Linked DNA regions of Homo sapiens: all the other regions are linked to region 1. Evidence: promoter capture Hi-C in human tissues and cell types (Jung and others, 2019). All regions are on one chromosome and are shown on one strand. The core of a region is centred on a gene start or on the middle of the fragment in contact, and the rest is flanking DNA. Distances in the headings are between cores, read along the strand shown. Region 1 holds the start of TANGO6 (transport and golgi organization 6 homolog). Region 2 overlaps UTP4 (UTP4 small subunit processome component). Region 3 has its middle 33 kb from the start of ZFP90.

Region 1 (2,781 bases), core at 128-2,627:
CTGACTCTTAATTGAGACAATGTAGCATATTTACCATACTTTTAGTGGAAATAACCTAAATTCAAATTCTGCCACTTACTAGTCTGACATTGGGCAATTTCCAATGTACCTGAACCTTGGTCCTTCATCCGTAAAAATTGAATACAAGTAGTACCGATCCCAGGGGATCGTAATGAGGATTAAATGATGTGTATGTCAACAGCCTACTATGGGGACTGATACTTAGTAGGCACTCATTTACTAATATTAGTAACTTGTGTTCACTTCCCGCTGGTGTGGTGTAATGTTTGCAGAAGTTTTTGCAGTTTTAAGTATAAAATCTGAGACTGGGAGGTGATCCCCTTTGGCCTTTCATGTGCCCTTGCTAATTCTACAGATCCCTTCCCATCCCTTCCCCCAAATATACACCCCAGTGATAAGCAGAGCTCTATCTTCCACGTCCTTTCCAAAAGCTCCAGATAACATCAGAGCCCCTATACTGAACAATTTGTCTGATTCTGAGAAGGGGGTTCAGTAGATCTCGGGCCTAGGTCCGTGTTCTGCCCCTAATTTGACCACGTGATCTTGGACAGGTTACTTAATTTCTTCAGTGAGCCTTGGGTGTCCTCAGTCGCAAAAGGAGTAGCAGCTTCAACCACTCCCAATATCCCTTCAGATTTTAGACTGGGAAGAAACTGTCCACGCACCACAAAGATTAAAAGCGCCTGGTAACCCCTAAATACTCTCCCCAAACCCATTTCAAACGTCACTGCTTCCGATGTCTGGACTTCTTGGCATTTCGTACAAATCTCAAGGGTCCATGCTGGCCCCTGCGCCCTCACGCGGCTAGGACCTCACATTTCTACGTCGCGGGCGCCCTACCCTCTCTGGAGCTGGGTCCATATCCCCCTCCCAAGAGCGCTGCAGTAAGCACTGAATGAAATAACGGCCCCGCCTGACAGAGCCCAGCACAAGGCAAATGCTCAAGAGATGTTGGCTAATATCAGCAGTCAACGGATCCCGCGCCCTCCTTGAGCCTCAGTTTCCTCAAGAACGTAATGAGGACGGGCATAGACAATGCTCAAAGCCCCCAGCAGCGGGCGGAGGGTCCCGAGGCGGGCCTAAGGGGCGCACGCTGCGGAAGGCAGGGCAGCCCCGGAAGCCGGGCGGCCCTGAGAGTCCCGGGTCCAGCCCGGCGCGGAGATGCGTCCTCTCACCTCCCGGGCTCAGCAGCAGCTTCAATGCCTCCAAAATCCGATCCAGACCGCATGTCTCCTGAGCCCCGCTGCCCACGGCCTGTCGGGCCGCCATGACTGGAGTGTAACACCACGCTCGCGACCCGCTCAGGCGCCTCGGCAGGGCGCCGCCGCCGCCATGTTAAGTGTGGCAGAAGGCTCTGGGCACACTATGGGGCGGGGCCAAATCGATCGGGAACGCCCCCTTCACATTTTTTTTCCGTCCCGGCTTAGTCCGGGGGGTAAGAGGGAACCCAAAAATGGCTAATCTGCCCACGCGCACAATTTCAGAAGCTCAATATGATTAACCGCTATGTAAAGAAGGAAGAGAGAAGTAATGTATCATTAAAGCTATATTTCAATATGAAAATACTCAGGTACTCAACACTGGCAGACATAATGAAGCAGACAGATGCTTCCATCTGCTTACAGTGAAGTATGGATAAGAAAAACAATATTCAGGCTGGGCGCGGTGGCTCACACCTGTAATCGCAGCACTCTGGGAGGCCGAGGCGGGCAGATCACAAGGTCAGGAGTTTGAGACCAACCTGTCCGATATGGTGAAACCCCGTCTCTACTAAACATACAAAAATTAGCCAGGCGTGGTGGCGGGCGCCTGTAGTCCCAGCTACCCGGGAGGCTGAGGCAGGAGAATCGCTCGAAGCTGGGAGGTCGAGGTTGCAGTGAGCCGAGATCACACCACTGCACTCCAGCCTGGGCGACAGAGCGAGACTCCATCTCAAAACAAACAAACAAACAAAACCTAAGTACAGACGTACACACGCATATATATCCATCGTGAATGTAAAGCTACAAATGTTGTTATGGGTAATATGATTTTTTTTTTCAGTGAACTTAGTAAAGTTCCCAGTAAAAGTTCGATCTGTGTTCTGTTTTCATGGTTGATGCATTCCTCGAAAATTCAGGGTCTATCAAAACCATGCCCTCCGCCAAACTGTTTTTATATGTAAAACAGAATGGATTTGAGATTCAGATTATCGGAAACAGGTTTTCACCTACATAAATCCTGGTGGGACGTTGAAAAACCATGTTGTCTGAAAGTCATGCCGCAGACACAGGACAATGTTTTTGAGGGCAGGACCTTTATTTTTATTTTATTTTTTGAGATGGGGTCTCGCTCTGTCGCCTAGGCTGGAGTTCAGTGGCGTGATCTCGGCTCACTGCAACCTCTGCCTCCCAGGCTGAAACAATTATCTGGCCTCAGCCCCCCGAGTAGCTGGGATTACTGGAGTGCCCCAGCATGCCCGGCTAATTTTTGTATTTTTTGTGGAGACAAGGTTTCGCCCTCTTGGCTAGGCTGGTCTTGAGCTCCTCACCTCAAGTGACCTGCCCACCTGGGCCTCCCAAAGTGCTGGGATTACAGGCGTGAGCCACTGCGCCCGGCCCAAAGGACAAACTTCTTAATGGTCCGGTCCTTGGGCGAGAATAAGCTGCGCATAGCTATTACCCTTTTTGGCATGACTCTTGTTTCTTCTTTTCTTTGTCATTTTGGAATGCAGGGCCTGAGAGGGAAAAACGCTAAAAATTTTTTTTTAGAGATGGAGTC
Region 2 (2,781 bases), core at 172-2,671, 320 kb before region 1:
TTCAGGGTGAATCAAAACAGCAGCTGGCAAAGAGGACAGAATCTAAAACTGAAGAAAATGCTCGTATCCCATGTAAATCACAGCCATGAAGAATTTTCCTAGCTGGGTTTTTCGAAGATGTTAAGACCAGTTCCTCAAGCCTGCAGACAGCGTTTTAGTAGCTTTAGCGAAGGGGCACAGAGGTCAAAACCTCAGCCTGTACCTCCTTTAATGAAACCAGGTTATTCAGATACCCCAGAGTTCAAAGTTGAAAGCAAGTTAGCCAAATCAATGATACTTCCGGATGAGGGTCACCTTCCGAATACTGGCCTAATCACTTTTCTGTGTAAGATTTATGTGCTTACTCGCAAAGTAGACAAATAGTCAAATCAGCAAAAGCCAGTATACAAAGGCCAGCCCCTTCCCCGAGAGCCTCCCGAAGAACTGTGGGAACACAAACCAGGGAATCTGTAAAACAAAAGCCCCTCTCCTCCAAGAAATGTACTAGCTACCTGTATTCTGATTTACTAGCTACCTTTATTCTGAGTCTCTGTCCTCTTACCTTATTGTACTTGTTGCTTTTAGAACTTTAAGATTCAGAAGAAGATTTGGGAGGTAGCAGTGAAGAACTCACCAATGACTTGTCAATGATGCAGAACATGTAGGCATCATGGAGAAGGATGTGCATCGGTCTCTTGGGATGAAAACTGATGTGTGTGATAGGAGTATCCCTTTGGAGCCAAAGGTGGTGAAAGCCCTGCTTCTGGACAGTCCGGCTCCAATCTGTATACTGTTTGTCTGGGATGCTGTACTCAAATACCTGAGGGAGGACATGACATAGAGAAATGCAGGCTGGTACTCAGAAAGACCAGAAGGGCATTCTCATCCCTAACCAGAAAGTATCTATACAAAGCTTCAACTGTATTATATTCATTCTATGCTCTCCCAACACTTTTTTTTTTTTTTGAGATGGAGTCTCACTCTGCCACACAGGCTGGAGTGTAGTGGCGTGATCTCCGCTCACTGCAAGCTCCGCCTCCCCGGTTCAAGCCGTTCTCCTGCCTCAGCCTCCCAAATAGCTGGGACTATAGGCGCCCACGAGTACGCCCGGCTAATTTTTTGTATTTTTAGTAGAGATGGGGTTTCACTGTGTTAGCCAGGATGGTCTTGATCTCCTGACCTCGTGATCTGCCCGCCTCAGCCTCCCAAAGTGCTGGGATTACAGGCGTGAGCCACCGCGCCCTGCCCATCTTTTCAGAGCTATTTTATGCACATAATACATAGCGTTCTGTATCTTGCTTTTGTTGCTCAGTGTTATATCACGGAGACTGACCCACATTAATACACATATATATCGGTCATGCCCATTCTGAAACACAGAATAGTCCACTCATTTTGTCCATGTATCATGATTTACTTATCCACTCTGCTTAATGGACATTAGCTTGTTTCATATCTTTGTCTACTACAAACAAAGCTGTCTCTGTATAAATGTCTTTTTGCACAGCTAGAAGCATATATATCTATATACAGATATATATATACATATATATATATATATATATATATATATAAAGAATGATTAGAACTGAAATTTCTAAGTCAAAGACCATGTGGACTTTAAAATTTTTAAGGTATTGCCAACATGTCCTCCAAAAGGGTTAGGATAATTTACACAATGTGTGAGAGTACTGTTTCCCTATACCTTCAGAACACTGTATATTATCAAGTCTTTGATCTTTGCTAATCTAACAGATATAAAAAACTTCCCATCAGTTTTACTTTCAGAAGCACTTAAGGGACTAAGTGCCAGTAAAAGGTGTCATGGGGGAAATTATCATTATGTGTGACAAAGGCAAAGATGTGTGGCTTCACTACTCTTTCAGTCTTTGGTCAAGGACTCAAATCTATAAAACTGAGAGATTTCACTTTTTGGACAGTGTGTGTGTGCATGTGTGAGTGTAAAAACTGACCATCAGCCGGGCGCGGTGGCTCAAGCCTGTAATCCCAGCACTTTGGGAGGCCGAGGCGGGCGGATCACAAGGTCAGGAGATCGAGACCATCCTGGCTAACATGGTGAAACTCCATCTCTACTAAAAATACAAAAAATTAGCCGGGCATGGTGGCGGGCGCCTGTAGTCCAGCTACTCGGGAGGCTGAGGCAGGAGGATGACATGAACCCGGAAGGCGGAGCTTGCAGTGATCGGAGATCGCACCACTGCACTCCAGCCTGGGCGACAGAGCGAGACTCTGTCTCAAAAAAAAAAAAAAAAAAACAAACTGACCATCAAAGCAGTAAGCATCATTTGCCTAGCACTCTACTTAAATGTGCTTCCTGGATTACATTTAATCTTCCCAACAGCTCAGTGAGGTAGATATTAACATCTCCAATTTTACAGATGAATTATTGATAACTTCCTAATATAATTATTGATAACTTCCTAATATATTCCGCAGCCCAGGTTTTTTTTTTTTTAAAGATCTCCTTATAATCACAATCTCCTTACAAATTGGTATAGAAAAAAGTAGATTAGGTTCTAATTTTGGCTGAGATTAGGTACCTGATCTTATTAGGGCTTGATTTCCTCATCGGCAAGCGTAAAGGTGAATGATACAATCTTTTAGTCACTTTCAACTCTCAAAATCTTATTCCATCCCATATCCAGTTTAATACCCAAGCCCATGTCATCTCTCCTCTAAAACAATCAGGAAAATGAGTACTTCAAAATTCCTCCTCCCTCTTGTGATTCTTTACTCTAGAATCTTAGTGCTTCTCCATTTAAATTGCATCCCATCAAACCA
Region 3 (2,781 bases), core at 85-2,584, 270 kb after region 1:
CCCACGCTGTGCCACTCAGAAGGAAGCGAAAACTCAGCACTGCACATGGCCGAGCAGACCAAAAGCGACTGCGAGGGAAGACGTTCAGCCCAGAAGTGGAAGTGAGCTGCTGCTAAGGCTTTCGGGGAACGTAGTCCCTAGCTGTGCCACATGTCCCTGCGTTCAGGAGGTGCTCTCTTGACATGTGTGTGCAACACACCTGGCGGAACTACACATCTCAACCTCAGCTCATAAAATGTATGATGATGCCAGTGGGCTTCCTTTGGACACCTCTTTAAAAGGCACACCCAGATCTTCCTATTATTAATTGTAAACTGGTGGTGTAAACTTTTCTAACCTGTGTGATGTTACCCTTAAAATGCCTTCCCACTCCCCAACACTGTCAAATCCCATGTTAGGATCCCTTAACCTGAGCAAATACAATTTTCTGCTTACTTTCAGTTATTGAAACTTAGTCTGACCATATATATATAGAGTTTTGTTTTGCTTTTAGAGACAGGTCTTGCTGTGTCACCCAGGCTGGGGTGCAATGGCATAATCATGGCTCACTGTAGCCTGGACCTGCTGGCCTCAAGCCTCCTGAAGTTCTGGGATTTTAAGTGTGCCACTGCACCTGGCGATGAAGCCTGTGGCCTGCCCTGATGGCACCCCTGGGTCCAGCTTCATCCCAGCTCTCTGTGTCGATTCACAGCAGGGCAGCCTAGTTTCCCTTGGGCCTCACGCAATCCTTGCCTCTAACCAGTCTCAAGGTGAGTTTGGCAGAGCAGCCATTGACACAGCCTTATGGCTCCTGCCCACTTGTCCTCCTTCCCAGGAGCTCCAGGTACAGGGTGAACATACATCTGGGTTTTAGAGCACAATCTGAGCTTCCCATCTGATTAGCTTCCCCTTCATTCTCAGGGTCCCTGTTTGGACAATCAATTATAAGGACACCCTATCCAGGAACCACTGAAATCCTGACTTGTGATCTCTGATGTCAAGGAAAACAGATGGAGTGGTCCTATCCTTTCCTTCCCAGGGATAACACAAATGCAGACCCTTAGAGATCTCCACTCTGCTGCTAGGGACTAATCCAGCAGCAGCCCCCTCCCTTCTGAAATCTCCAGACAGTTGGGGGCACCCCTCTCTGTTCGATCCTTTACCACCTTCCACCTCCACACTACAGGGAACACATTTTAAGGAACAAACATTAAGTTCTCCCAAGAACTCCAGGTGACAGCTGTGAAGTGGGCCTGTGGTTTTGCTGGAGATGGAGATGCCAAGCTCCCATGCTTTCAGATCTCCCAATATCTCATTCTTGGTGCCCAAGTCCCCCACCCCTGTAGGGGCAGGGTAGGGGCTTCATCCCAGGAGCATGAGGCCCATCTCCTCTGGATCAGAACCTCCTTACATGGTTTTTATATCTATAGGGGCCAAGGATCAAGTGGCTCTGTGACTCTCACATCTAGTGAGTCCTATGGGACCATGTGTCCAGTCTCTGTGACACCCTTTAGAAAGCAGAGGAATGTGACATTTTGTTTTCACCTTAGGAGCTTTATCAGCAACTCCAAGCCAACAGAAAAGTCCCTGTCAAGATCCTGTGAGAACTCTAACTTTGGAATTGCAAATTGCCAGTTTTTTAATGCAGACAGTAAAATAAAAGCCCCATTAATTACTACAATAATACTTCCTGTTCACAGCTCAATAAAATACCATTATAATTCAGGTCCAGATTTCTTGACTCCTTTATCCATTAAAATGTGTTTGTCTTTTAGTGTGTCTGCTACCTTTCCAAATGGAAAAAAAAAAAGTGTTTGTCAGCTGGTCATGGTGGCATGCACCTGTAGTCCTAGCTGCTTGGGCGACTAAGGACAGAGGATCACTTGAGCCCAGGAGTTTGAGGCTTCAGTGAGCTATGATCACACCACTGCATCAGAGACCCCACCTCAAAAAAAAAGTGTTTGTTAAAAAAGTATGTTTTTCCAAAATGACCAGGGTTTTACTAAAAGTTATTAGCAAAAATTAGTAATATCCTTCCACCAACTCTTGCAAATAGTCACTCATGCTCCTCATCTGCAGGAAGCCCTCTGCTCCTCTGCCCTCCCTTTTTAATTGGTGCCTCAAAAGGCATTTCTGGCAAGTGGCAACGCTCTGCCTGATTCTGACAGTGCCAAGACTTTTTCTTTTAACAATTTTTTATTATTTCCTAAAAATTATTTATTTTTGTTGAGATGAGGTCTCACTATGTTGCTTAGGCTGGTCTCGACTCCTGGCCTCAAGTGATCCTCCCACCTTGGCCTCCCAAAGTGCTGGGATTACAGGTGTGAGCCGCCGTGCTGGGTCCCTCCCTTCTTTCTTAGGCTTGGATCAGCTTCTCACTCTGAGGAGCATCAGTGCTCATTATTCCTTCCCCCAAATCCTTCAGGTGTGCTGGTGTACAAGTTATCCAGGCTTATGCCCTGAGGGAAACCAAGCAGGTGGTTGTGTGGGAGGAGGAATCAGATAAGAAAAAGGAGGCCAACTTTAACTGTAAATGAGTTTAAACATTCACAGAGGCACATACAACGAATACCTATGCACCACTGTGGGGACAAAAGTTTTAAATTTTATTATTTACTATTATTATTTTTTGCCTTTCAAATGAGTTTAATAAAGACTAGTTTGGAAAATAGCGATTTTAAATTTTAATCCACCATGTGACTTCTGACTAACCTAACCCTCAGTCTGGGAATGCCTCTAAAATGTCTAGTTGATGTATTACTCTTTACATAGAAACACCTATTTCCCTTCCCTCAAAACAAC

What was found. Contacts are between HindIII fragments. The study calls those that stand out against the background at their distance.
Region 2: a contact is called between a fragment that was not itself captured here and the fragment with the promoter of TANGO6 in region 1, in 1 of the 25 tissues and cell types used here (IMR-90 fibroblasts).
Region 3: a contact is called between a fragment that was not itself captured here and the fragment with the promoter of TANGO6 in region 1, in 1 of the 25 tissues and cell types used here (pancreas).

Annotation. Positions count from the first base shown.
Region 1 is chr16:68,842,127-68,844,907 of GRCh38, reverse strand. It overlaps TANGO6 (transport and golgi organization 6 homolog), which reads right to left and starts at 1,377. Exons shown (of 18, transcript NM_024562.2): 1 at 1,197-1,377. The coding sequence starts at 1,290. RefSeq lists an enhancer at 1,137-1,406. The HindIII fragment of the contact is 20,381 bases long and covers 1-2,781 here.
Region 2 is chr16:69,163,359-69,166,139 of GRCh38, reverse strand. It overlaps UTP4 (UTP4 small subunit processome component), which reads right to left. Exons shown (of 17, transcript NM_032830.3): 15 at 614-799. Among named protein-coding and RNA genes, the nearest start is that of SNTB2, 22 kb to the left of the region's middle. The HindIII fragment of the contact is 4,452 bases long and covers 1-2,781 here.
Region 3 is chr16:68,571,188-68,573,968 of GRCh38, reverse strand. It overlaps a transcript of ZFP90 not described here. Among named protein-coding and RNA genes, the nearest start is that of ZFP90, 33 kb to the right of the region's middle. The HindIII fragment of the contact is 5,111 bases long and covers 1-2,781 here.